Linked DNA regions of Homo sapiens: region 2 is linked to region 1. The links are contacts of gene promoters, found by promoter capture Hi-C in human tissues and cell types (Jung and others, 2019). All regions are on one chromosome and are shown on one strand. The core of a region is centred on a gene start or on the middle of the fragment in contact, and the rest is flanking DNA. Distances in the headings are between cores, read along the strand shown.

Region 1 (6,812 bases), core at 2,571-5,070:
GACCAAAGACAGCTCATGCAGTGAGTGCTTTGACCCAGTCACCTGAGTTTAGCTTCTGCCTAGATTTCCACATGAATAGATCTTGCTGTCCTGCCACTGGGCAGAATTTCCACAGCAAAAAGACAATTTACCAAGTATAGTCACCACTATCAGATATCTGAAGAATAATTTTATTTAAAGTCTTGTCTACTGTGCCTTGTCTACCTGGAAACTTGCCCAGCTAAGAGTTTTCTACATTAAGATTGAGTTTTTCTGTGCTCTCTGGACCTAGAACTGCAGCTGAGTCCATCTGCACATCTCCTATCTCACACTTTCTCATCAGTCCTTGTCTTGAACTAAGTGCCAGTTTTAGCCTTGATGTCAATTAACTAGTCCTGTCGCTCTAAGGTACTAATGATGCCACTTTCATATTACAAAAGTCATCACAGAAGGATAATTTACTTCTTAGTAATATGAAAGAAATCCAGAATGCTAATAACATATGCGTAATATTTTCTTGAATTTTTGTATTCCATTAGGCTAAAACAACTAGGGGAAATGGTCTTCATATATTTTTTCATAATGATTGGCTAATCACGATAGAGTATAAAGTAAATCAAAGAAACATAAAATAGCTTGGAAAGAACAAAAGAAATGCAATTTAAAAATGTTTAATGACACTCCACCTACAAACATTGTTTTACAAATGTATTAAAGTTAATTCTCTTTCTAAAATGTCTTAGACTAGTAATAGGGTTGGGGAAAAAAATCTCCCTTTCCTTCCCTGGGCTATAATTTTACTTTTTAGGTATGACTACTGAGGAATTTCTAATTTGGCTCATCACTTCAGTGGGAATTCAGTGCACATAAGGGGCACATATGTAATTGGCAACCTAATTTTTCTGCTTTCATCAAATGGTGCAATGCCAAATCTTCATTGAACTTGCCAGTTAAATGCACTTGGGAACCAAACAGCAGCAAGCATACATGAGATTAAAATGAACAAATTGGAAAGAGTCATTAACTTTTTCTGTTTTCCTATCACAACAAAAATTGTATCATTGAAAGTGTTGCAAAGTGGGGAATTCTACTTGAAACATTAAACAATCTTAAAAGAGAATAATTCATTTACTTAACTTCTAAAATGTGGTTCATTATAATTTATAAATGGGGTTTCTAGTGCAGATTTTTTTCAACAAAAATACAAAATCATTAAAATGAATAAACTTTTCAGGAGTATGTTTTAAGTTATATGTTTCACATGTCTTTCTGGTCTAGTGCATATAAATTCTAGCCTTTATTTGGAAAGAAAAATTGTCAGAAAATTAAGCAAGAAATGTTGGCTTCCTGTAATACCGTAATGAATAAAGGCAATTGACAGCTTTTCATGGTTCTCAGTAATTATGAATGGAACTGAGAGTGTAAAAATTACTATCATTTGTGGTTACCAAAAATGCCCTTGAAATATCTGGTCTAATATATAATTTTGAAGTATGCAATATACAGTCATAATCAAATTATTGTTATTAATGACAATTAAATAGAGAACCAGGACACTGAAAACACCACAAACTTGCTGAATATGATTGAGTATCATCCCTTTAGGAGGACATAACCTTTTAAAATGTCTGTTTACGGCTCTCAAACCACCTATGTATTCACTAGATGCAAATGTTCAGTAATATCTCCTCTACAAAATTTCGTTTTACAATGACACCAGGTTTCTTTCAGAAAGGACTGTGTAGGAAAGTTTTCTTTTTCCATTTATGAGTTCAAGTATGTTAAGACTTTTTAAATTGTTGACCAGCCCTAAAAAACATTAACATTTCATAAATCGCTCTTGCATTGTAAAAAGAAGGAGGGAGGTAGAAGAAAAATGCCAAAGGATTGTAGGTCAGCTTATTTCATAAACAAAAGCTCTAAGGAAAGTCCTGAGATTTTTAAGTAAGCCAGGCCTTCTGAATGGGACATGATATGGACAGTAGAATAAGACAGATTGAGTTCCATTGACATTATTTATTCTTTGTATGATCTTAGGTTATCTACACACACTTTCAAAATTTAACTTTCTTGGTCTGTAAAATTGAGGAAATAATAATAGCTGTCCCATAGGGCACACTATCAATCCCAATATGCTTTGTTAGTCCATTCATTTTTCCAGTGCTTAATCAAAGAAGCTTTAATGGCCTATATACTTATATTATTGATATATTCACGCACCTGTCCCAACTTGCTGTCCTTTCCAATATCACTTTGTTTTTATCACACTCCTTAATATCACTTCTTTGTTAGGTCTTGATCACATGCTTAAATCATTTTTAATGTTTGCTAAACTCTGTATGAGAGATTGAAGAATTACGAGACAGGAACATCAATGTGAAAGGGTAAAATATGTGGAGAATATATAAGGTGCCAGCATATGACAAAACCCTAAAGATGTACGATGGTCACAAGCCATGGAAGAAGATAGGACAACTGAATTGTCAACCTTGCCGCCTCCTCCGTAGCCTCCTAAATCTTATCTTCCTTTTGTCTAATTTATGAAAAATGTTTCCTATAATTGTCTCCCAAAAGCAGAGTTGTCCCCATGCTGTAATATACATTGACCACTCAGATTCATTTAAAAAATACATCTTGCTTTTATTCCCAATATAACCACATTTCAGAAGTTAGATCATAGCCAGTTAGATTACACAGAGCGTGCGCACGCGCACGCGCACACACAAACACACCTTGAAAAAACTGTAGATCACTTGATTTCTGGAAGTTTTTCTCAATACCTCAGTGCACCTGATCACAACATCTTGTAATCTGGGCAGAAGGTAAGGGAGGTGATGTTAGGCGTACAAACTTAATATTGGGGATGCATTTTCTACCTAGAAATGGTCCTACATTCTACCAGAATGGGTTAAAAACAGATGCGCGCGCGCACACACACACACACACACACACAGAATTAAATGCACTACATTTGCTGTATTGCCTGCTAAAGGCATAAATATACTGGAGTGGAGATAAAGAAGGGGATGGATGGGAAAGAGTTCAGTACTTAGTGTAAACCTGAAAGGAAATGAGGCAGTGCAAGGGGAGAGAGGATCAGGGGAAAATAAATTATGTAGGCAACAGAACCATGCATCAAAAGTCTTTTCGATTTCTAAACTGGCAAATTTTCTCCAGGGGACCATCAGTCAAATGATGTCAAATTGAGCTGATTCTCTTGTAATGCCTGTATTGTGTAGGGCCTTCCTTGTAGGAACACAAGTTCCACTCTCGGACACAGTCGCAGTGCTTGCATTATCTTACAGAATTGATTGCTGCAAATGGTTCCTGGGAGGTGTGACCTGCTTAAAGGAAAGAAGCTAGGTTTCTTTTCTTGTTACTGAGGAATGAAGACACTTGTCAGGATGTGAATTGTGTGGGTGAGAAGGAAAAGCGGCGAAAGAATCTGGTAATTCCTTCCCTTACAGGAGGAAGAGAAAAAAGATAACATCGGAACCTTGGAGAGGAGAAATACAGTGCATTTATTTCCAGCATCCCCGCAGTCACTTCACGTCTCTTCAGACTTCCCCTATTCTTTAGTCTTGACCTGCCTATGCACTTGAACTCCACATAAGCACTAGGATGGACTGGGGGAAAAGGCCAGGTCAGCACGGTGGGATACTGCTTCCCCTAAAATGAAAACTCAGCAGCGGGCCAGCAGTGGGTGTGCGCGCGTCGATGCCAGAGGATGCGTGCGTGGAATCCGGCGGACGCAGTGGGCCGGGCACCGCCCTCCAAGCCGCCCCGCCCAGCCCACCACACTCCTCCTTGTATAAAGGCCGCGCTTGGGCCCGCCCTCCTCACAGCCCCGGAGCGCGGCCTGCCGGGGAGGTGGATCTCGCGCTCCCCACACAGTCACACTCCGCGCACTCACACACTTGGAAGCGCCTCCCCACGTCCCTCCCCTGCCCTCCTCTTGCTCTGCTCTTCTCTCCCTCACCACAAATAGTCGCCGACCTACTGCCAATCCGCCTCTCCTCTCTCTCTCTCTCTGTCTCAACATGACTGACTGGGAAGCGGTGGCTCGGGCAGAGCAGCTCCGCTGGCGCAGGCAGGAGGAGCAGGAGGATTATTAAATAACGCAGCTGGACTCTGTGCAACTGGGAGTGGAGAGGAGCCCAACAGCCGAGAAGGGGAGGGAGGGCAGAGGAGGGGGACCAGGAAGGACACCCCCGTGCCCCGAAGACATAAATCCCTGAGTGCCCGGGAGGAGCCTTAACAAGCGCACGGAGCCCTCAAGGTAGTAACGCCCCTGGTGCCTCAGCGCTCAGCGGGTCGCGCGTCGCGTCGCCGCTTTGCGGGGCCGGCCGCAGGCGGACGCGGGGATGACCGCTCGGCAGGTGACCGCGCCGTGTCGGGGCCGCCTGCGAGCAGCGCGCGCCCAGGCCCGGCGTGCTCGGCGCAGAGACCTGGCCTTGCGGGCGGGGTGGGAAGGAGGCGGGCGGGCTCGCTCACCACCGGCCCGCGACTCCCAGTGCGCCGCGTGGCCATTTCCTCCACGCTGCTGCGTGGTTTGCTGCCTGCGGCCGCGGCGGCCGCTCCAGGGCGATGCGGAGCGCTGGCCAAGGCGGCGAGAGTTGGCGCAGGCTTCGGGTCGCTCCCCTTCCTCGCCACTCGCGTCCCGCAGGTAGAGGCGACCGGTCAGCGCTGGCGCCCCGGGCTGCGGGTGCTGAGGCGGGGACGGCGGCGAAGAGGGGGAAGGGGAGGAGGGGGCGGGGAGCCAGGGGCTCCCGGAGGAACCGCAGTGCGGGGCCGGGACCACCTCTTGCCTCCGCCTGCTTGTCCTCTGGCGCCAGTTTCCTGGATTGGAAGCAAGACCCTGCCCAGAGGCAGCAGTAACGGCAGCGACTTAGATTGAACCACTTGCTTTGTGGTGGAGCGTCAAGGGCCCCAGGTTGTGTGCGTGTGTGTGTGTGTGTGTGTGTGCGCGCGCGCGCGCGCTCTGGACTAACCAGTGGGTTGGTTCACCTGAGCAGAAAGTCAGCCGTAAGCTGAAACCGCATGTGGCCCCCTGGCCCCTTCGACTTTTGGCTTGTGTCCCAGGGACTCGTACACACGGTGCCAGCAAGGGGTAAGGGTGACGGAGGGATTTGTGAATGGTGCTTCTGCGTGCGTGGAGGCTGAGCCTTGCTGATGTAAAGGAGGAGGTATCCAGAGTGAGAAGAAAGGCTATTTATGGCAAAGAGTTGTGAAATTTCTTGGGGTTTCCTTTTAGTGTATCCTGAACTGCTCTCTTTCTCTCTCTCTCTCTCTCCTCTCCCTGCCTCAGAATTAGAAGCAATTATGCTTCCCCTTCCTCTCGTGGGACATGGAATATGAAATGAAGTAAAAAAAAAACTCATATTTTTACAGGTAGAAAAAAATACTTCTTAGAAGTTACAGATTCTTTGCCCTTTAATGTTTTTATGTCCTCTTCTCCACCCCTCTTACCTTTTCAGGCAGTCAGTAGGACTTACAAGTCAGAAAATACCTACTTGGTTTCAACAGCTTTCATTTCTGAAATCTTTACAGTTGAATACCTTCCTATTGAAATGTAACACACATCCTCCCTTCTCTGCCCCTCAAGGACTATTAAAAATAATGTGTACACGTTTAAAGTAAAGCTGGTTTTATTAACAGCCTTAGGGAAAACGGATAAGAGGACACCTAGGTGGGGGTCAGTTATCACTGGTTCCTTCAAAACTGGTTATTAAGGGAAGACCTAAAATACTGGTAATCTAGGCTATAATATAATTTGTCTTGGTTTCTCTTTCTGTTTGCTTTATAACAGGTACATGTTCCAGATACGTAACTTGAAACTTAAAGATGCCTTGGGACAGTGCCTGTCACGGTGCTTATAAAATGAATGTTTTCTCTTAAAAGTAGCAACCTGTACTTTTATAGAACTGTGACTGGGTTTAGTAGTAGGACAGTATCCTTAATATTGCAAACTGAAATGTCTCTAAAAGCCTGCCAAGACAATGTTTTTCAAATATTGAAATTCCATGTTGTAACCACACTTTCAATAGTTTCACAGAGAAAAAAGAGAAGTTGGTCAACCTATTGTCAGAGTGATTTGTCTTCATTTAAATTAATTAGTTATTTTGATCAAAACAAACCAACTGTTGTTTGTATTGTTTTATTGCTTTCCTAAACAGTCCTGTTCTTTGAAAAACAAAGCAGAGTTAAGGATTTGATATTTTGATTTTGTTAGATTTATATTACTTTGAAATACATTTTCAACACGGAAGCATGTGCAGCTTTAAATATTAGGTTAGAACTCAGATGGAGAACCCCATTCGGAGGGTTATTACCTCAACTATCCCAAACTATTTGAACATAGATATAATAGGGAATTAAAAAATGTAATTGATGAACTGTATTATTGCAATCATTAAAAGTCCTATTTATGAGTATTTTGTTTTTTGACAGTTAAGAGAATCAGCAACTGTTTATTATTTTAAAGATACATTATTTATACCATAGAATGTTAATTTAGATAAAACAAAGTAGAAAATGAAAAATTTGTTATATTTTTACAGTAATAGTTATTCAACCCTTTATTGCATTTTATTACTCATCATAATGCTCATAATAAAGGGCCTAACGTTTGCAAAGTACTACTGTCTAGGCATTGGGGAGGAACGGGAGATTCCTTGTTCCCTGTCTTTCAGGAACTTACTTGCCATGTGGGAGGAATCTGATGCTCATGCTTGAGCGTAGAGTTAACAACCCGTAACAATAAGAGATTACATGTCTAATGAGTACTACAGGAGTTCAGAACATGACAATAACATTTCATACTGGATTTTGTT
Region 2 (6,179 bases), core at 786-3,285, 160 kb before region 1:
ACCGGAGTTTATTATTACTCAAATCAGTCTCCCTGAGCATTCAGGGAGCAGAGTTTTTGTTTTGTTTTTGTTTTGAGACGGAATCTCTCTCTGTTGCCAGGCTGGAATGCAGTGGCACAATCTCGGCTCACTGCAACCTCCGCCTCCTGGGTTCAAGCAATTCTCCTGCCTCAGCCTCCTGAGTAGCTGGAACTACAGGCGCTGCCACCACACCCAGCTAATTTTTGTATTTTTAGTAGAGACGGTTTCACCATGTTGGCCAGGAAGGATGGTCTCGATCTCTTGACCTTATGATCTACTCGCCTTGCCCTCCCAAAGTGCTGGGATTACAGGTGTGAGCCACTGCGCCTGGCCAGGAGCAGAGCTTTTAACAATAACTTGGTAGGTTGGTGGGGAGCCAGTGAGTCAGGAATGCTGATTGGTCAGGGCTGAAATCACAGGGAGTGGAAGCTGTCTTCTGGTGCTGAGTCGGTTCCTGGGTGGGGGCCACAAGATCAGACAAGCCAGTTTATTGATCTGGGTGGGGCTAGCTGATCCATCAAGTGCAGGGTCTGCAACATATCTCAAGCACTGATCTTAGGAGCTACATGACTCCTAAACCATAATTTCTAATCCCGTGGCTAATGTTAGTCTAGTCCCCATGCAAGAAGGAAGTCTGCTTTGGGAAAGGCTGTCTTTGTTTAAACTATAAACTACAAACTAAGTTTCTCCCAAAGTTAGTTCAGCCTACGGTCAGGAATGAACAAGGACAGCTTGGAGGTTAGAAGAAAGATGGAGTCAGTTAAATTGGATCTGTTTCACTGTTTGAGTCATAATTTTGCAAAGGCGGTTTCAATACTAGTGTCACAAAATGGGAAGAAAAAGGACTGGGATTATGCCTCCATTTAAAAAATTATTCGTGAGTATGTGTTCTCATTTATTTCCCTCTTAACTCTTGAAACTAGTAATTTGCCTAACGAGAGAAAAAAAACTTACCATTTTCATAAATTTTCTTTCAGTGGTATCTTTCATGCGCGTCCGTGTGAAGAGACCACCAAACAGGCTTTGTGTGAGCAACATGGCTGTTTATTTCACCTGGGTGCAGGGGGGCTGAGTCCAAAAAGAGAGTCAGCGAAGGGAGAGAGGGGTGGGGCCGTTTTATAGGATTTGGGTAGGTAAAGGAAAAAGGGGGGTTGTTCTCTGGCAGGCAGGAGTGGGGGTCACAAGGTACTCAGTAGGGGAGCTTTTGAGCCAGGATGAGCCAGGAGAAGGAATTTCACAAGACAATGTCACCAGTTAAGGCAGGAACAGGCCATTTTCACTTCTTCTGTGGCGGAATGTCATCAGTTAAGGCAGGAACAAGCGATCTGGATGTGTACGTGCAGGTCACAGGGTATATGATAGCTTAGCTTGGGCTCAGAGGCCTGACATTCCTGTCTTCTTATATTAATAAGAAAAATAAAATGAAATAGTGGTAAAGTGTTGGGACAGCGAAAATTTTGGGGGATGGTATGGAGAGATAATGGGCGATGTTTCTCAGGGCTGCTTCGAGCGGGATTAGGGGCGGTGTGGGAACCTAGAGTGGGAGAGATTAAGCTGAAGGAAGATTTTGTGGTAAGGAGTGATATTTGTGGGGTTGTTAGAAGGAACATTTGTAATTTAGAATTATTGGTGATGGCATGGATACAGTTTTGTATGAATTGAAAAACTAAATGGAATAAGAGAAGGAGAAAAACAGGTATAAAAGGTCTAAGAATTGGGAAGACTCAGGACATCTGATTAGAGAGTGCCTAAGGAGATTCGGCATAGTCCTGCCAACAAAGATTATTTATTTACGTCAAGAGTTAAGAGTGGCAGTTTGGGGATAGCACCAGGAGATATCAGCTGTGATGGCTTGGAGAAACAGTGTAAACCGGCAGTGTAAACAAGAGCAGGGCATGTATGAGTAGTTGAGAACGCTGAATAGGAGTATGACTAGACAGAAGATAGTAGGGATGACAAGTTTTTGGGGGCACATTCTAAGTTGGTCTGGTGTCTGGAATGAGACTGGGGCCTAATAAAACGGAGCGTCTATACAGGAGCTCAAATGGGCTGTAACTTGTAGCATTCTGAGGACAGGTCTGACTTCTGAGAAGAGAAAGTCATAAAAGTATTGTCCAGTCCTTTTTAAATTGGTGGCTGAGCTTAGTGAGGTGTGTTTTTAAAAGACCTTTAGTCCATTCTACTCTTCCTGAAGACGGAGGACCTTAAGGGATATAAAGGTTTCACTGAATACTAAGAGCCTGAAAAACTGCTTGGCTGATTTGACTAATAAAGGCTGGTCTTTTATCAGACTGTATAGAGGTGGGAAGGCTAAACTGAGGAATTATGTTGACAGAAGGGAAGAAATGACTGTGGCAGCCTTCTCAGACCCTGTAGGAAAGGCCTGTACCTATCCAGTGAAAGTGTCTACCTAGACTAAGAGGTATTTTAGTTATCTGACTCGGGGCATGTTGAGTAAAGCTAATTTGCCAGTCCTGGGTGGGGGCAAATCCTTGAGCTTGATGTGTAGGGAAGGGAGGGGGCCTGAATAATCCCTGAGGAGTAGTAGAATAGCAGATGAAACACTGAGAAGTGATCTCCCTGAGGATAGATTTCCATGATGGAAAGGAAATGAGAGGTTCTAAGATGCGGGTTAGTGGCTTGTACTATATAGCATAGCCTGCCTTTGCTGGTGTGTGGTGATTAGGCCTGGTAGAACTGCCATCAATAAATCAAGCGTGATCAGGGTGAGGAATAGGAAAGAAGGAAATATGCGGAAATGGGGTGAATGTCAGGTGGATCAGAAAGATACAGTCATGGGGGTCAGGTGTGGTATCAGGAATAATGTGGGAGGCCAGATTGAAGTCCGGGCCAGGAACAATGGTAATTGTGGGACTTAACAAAGAGTGAGTACAGCTGAAGGAGCCGGAGAGCAGAAAGTGTATGCGTCAGGTATGAGGAAGAAAATAGATTTTGGAAGTTATGAGAAATGTAAGAGACTAAGTTGAGCAGAGTTTGTGATTTTGAGGGCCTCTAAAAGTATTAGGGTGGCAGCAGCCACTGCACGGAGACATGATGGCTAGGCTAAAACAGTAAGGTCAAGTTGTTTGGACAGAAAGGCTACAAGGTGCGGTCCTGTCCTGGCTCTTGTGTAAGAAATCTGACTGCACTAACCATGCCTAGGAAGGAAAGGAGTTGTTGTCCATGCCTAGGAAGGAAAGGAGTTGTTGTTTTGTAAGGGATTGAGGTTTGGGAGATTAATCGGACACGATCAGCAGGGAAAGCACGTGTGTTTTTATGAGAATTATGCCGAGATAGGTAACAGATGAGGATGAAATTTGGGCTTGACTGAAGTAATGGGGGCTGTCTGTGAAGCCTTGTGGCAGTACAGCCCAGGTAATTTGCTGAGCCTAATGGGTGTCAGGGTCAGTCCAAGTGAAAGCGAAGAGAGGCTGGGATGACGGGTGCAAAGGAATAGTAAAGAAAGCGCGTTTGAGATCCAGAACAGAATAATGGATTGTGGAGGGAGGTATTGAGGATAGGAGAGTATATGGGTTTGGCACCATGGGGTGGATAGGCAAAACAATTTGGTTGATAAGGCATAGATCCTGAACTAACTTGTAAGGCTTGTCTGGTTTTAGGACAGGTAAAATGGGGGAATGGTAAGGAGAGTTTATAGGCTTTGAAAGGCCATGCTGTAGCAGGCGAGTGATAACAGGCTTTAATCCTTTCAAAGCATGCTGTGGGATAGGATATTGGCATTGATCCGGGTAAGGGTGATTAGGTTTTAATGAGATGGTAAGGGGTGCATGATCAGTCACCAAGGAGGGAGTAGAGGTATCTTATACTTGTGGGTTAAGGTGGGGGGATACAAGAGGAGGACGCAAAGGAGGCTTTGGATTGGGAAGAAGGGCAGCAATGAGATGTAGTTGTAATCCAGGAATAGTCAGGGAAGCAGATAATTTAGTTAAAGTGTCTCGGCCTAATAAGGGAACTGGGCAGGTGGGGATAACTAAAAGGAGTGCTTAAAAGAGTATTGTCTAAGTTGGCACCAGAGTTGGGGAGTTTTAAGAGGTGTAGAAGCCTGGCTGTCAATACCCACAACAGTTATGGAGGTGAGGGAAACAGACCCTTGAAAATAAGGTAATGTGGAGTGGGTAGCCTCCGTATTGATTAAGAAGGGGACCGACTTACCTTCCACTGTGAGAGTTACCTGAAGCTCGGTGTCCGTGATGGTCTAGGGGGCTTCTGAGGTGATCGGGCAGCGTCAGTCTTCAGCTGCTAAGCCAAGAAGATCTGGGAAGGAGTCAGAGAGCCTTGGGCCAGAGTTCCAGGGGCTCTGGGAGTGGCTGCCAGGTGAGTTGGACAGTCCGATTTCCAGTGGGGTCCCACACAGATGGGATGTGGCTTAGGAGGAATCCTGGGCTGCAGGCATTCCTTGGCCCGGTGGCCAGATTTCTGGAACTTGTAGCAAGCTCCTCGGGGAGGAGGTTCTGGAGGAACACCTGGCTGCTGCAGTTCAGGCGTTTGGAAGTTCTTGTGTGCTGGAGATGTGGCTGGGGTTTGTCTCACAGTGGAGGCAAGGAACTGCAACTTTTTTCTATTATTGTACACCTTGAAGGTGAGGTTAATTAAATCCTGTTGTGGGGTTTGAGGGCCAGAATTTAATTTTTGGAGTTTTATTTAATGTTGGGAGCAGATTGGGTAATAAAATGTATTTTGAGAATAAGACGGCCTTTTGACCTTTTAGGGTCTAGGGCTGTAAAGTGTCTCAGGGTTGCTGCCAAACAAGTCATGAACTGGGCTGGATTTTTATATTTGATGAAAAAGAACCTAAACGCTATCTGATTTGGGATAAGGAAAAAGGAGCATTAACCTTGACTATGCCTTTAGCTCCAGCCACCTTTTTAAGAGTAAATTGCTGGGCAGGAGGGGGAGGGCTAGTCATGGAAGGAAACTGTAAGCCGGACCAGGTGTGAGGAGGGGAGGCGATAAAAGGATTATAGGGTGGAGGAGCGGAGGCTGAGGAAGAATTGGGACCTAGCTCGGTCTGGCGAGGAGCAGCCTGGGGAGGAGGGGAGAGGTCAGATGGGTCTGTAGAAAAGGAAGATTAGAAAGACTCAGTGACTCTTGGGGTTGGGACTGAGGGGACAGGCGGAAGGGAAAGAAGGAAGATTTGGGACGAGTTGCATTGGGCACAGAGACTAGGAAGGGACCGATGTGTAAAAGAATGCCTGGATGTCAGGCACCTCAGACCATTTGCCCATTTTACGACAAGAATTATTTAGATCTTGTGGGATGGAGAAATTGAAAGTGCCGTTTTCCGGCTATTTGGAACTACTGTCCAGTTTGTATTGGGGTCAAGCATCATTGCAGAAGAAAATAAGATGCTTAGATTTTAGGTCAGGTGAGAGTTGAAGAGGTTTTAAGTTCTTAAGGACACAGGCTAAGGGAGAAGAAGGAGGAATGGAAGGTGGAAGCTTGCCCATAGTGAAGGAGGCAAGCCCAGAGAAAAGAGTAGAGACACGGAGAGGGGATGGGGGGTTCTTGCCCTCCAGAAAAGCAGAGAAGGGGTCAGGGCACAGAGATACGAGGTCGGGGTGTGGAAATAAGGGATCGGGGTGCAGAGATTTAAGAGGTCAGGGCACGGAAATAAGGGATGGGCACAGAGATATGAGGTTGGGGTACTTGCCCCTCCTCTAGAAAAGTGGGACTTGCCACTCAGGGTGAAGGAGAAGAGGTTGGGGGTTTCTTGCCCCCCAGAAAGGTGGAGAAGGGGTAGAGACACGGAGAGAAGGGGTTGGGGTACTGGCCCCTTCCCCAGAAAAGTGGGACTTGCCGCTAAGGGTGAAGGACCAAGGCAGGCGTCCCTGCGTGGTCTGACACCTCTGAAGCCTGGGTGAATAATCAGAGAGGTGTCCCTGGAATGATTAAACACCAAGGGAAGGCTGCCTTCCCAGTCCGTGACTGGCGCCGGAGTTTTGGGTCCACGGATAAAACGTGTCTCCTTTGTCTCTAGAAGAAAATGAAAGGAATTGAAATTAAAAGAAGGGAGAGATTAAAGTGTGGCGCCAAGATTGAAAGGAGAAAGAGGTTGAGTGATAGTGAGGGAGGTTGGAGAAGAGAGTAAAAAGAGGCGGCTTACCGGATTTGAAATTGGTGAGATGTTTCTTGGGCTG

Evidence for each region. Contacts are between HindIII fragments. The study calls those that stand out against the background at their distance.
Region 2: a fragment that was not itself captured here is called in contact with the fragment with the promoter of CCSER1 in region 1 in 2 of the 25 tissues and cell types used here (adrenal gland and small bowel).

The regions. Positions count from the first base shown.
Region 1 is chr4:90,123,574-90,130,385 of GRCh38, forward strand. CCSER1 (coiled-coil serine rich protein 1) reads left to right here and starts at 3,821. Exons shown (of 11, transcript NM_001145065.2): 1 at 3,821-4,258. RefSeq lists silencers at 4,379-4,578, 4,689-4,938. The HindIII fragment of the contact is 9,294 bases long and covers 181-6,812 here.
Region 2 is chr4:89,963,786-89,969,964 of GRCh38, forward strand. No RefSeq gene overlaps it. Among named protein-coding and RNA genes, the nearest start is that of MMRN1, 72 kb to the left of the region's middle. The HindIII fragment of the contact is 9,139 bases long and covers 1-6,179 here.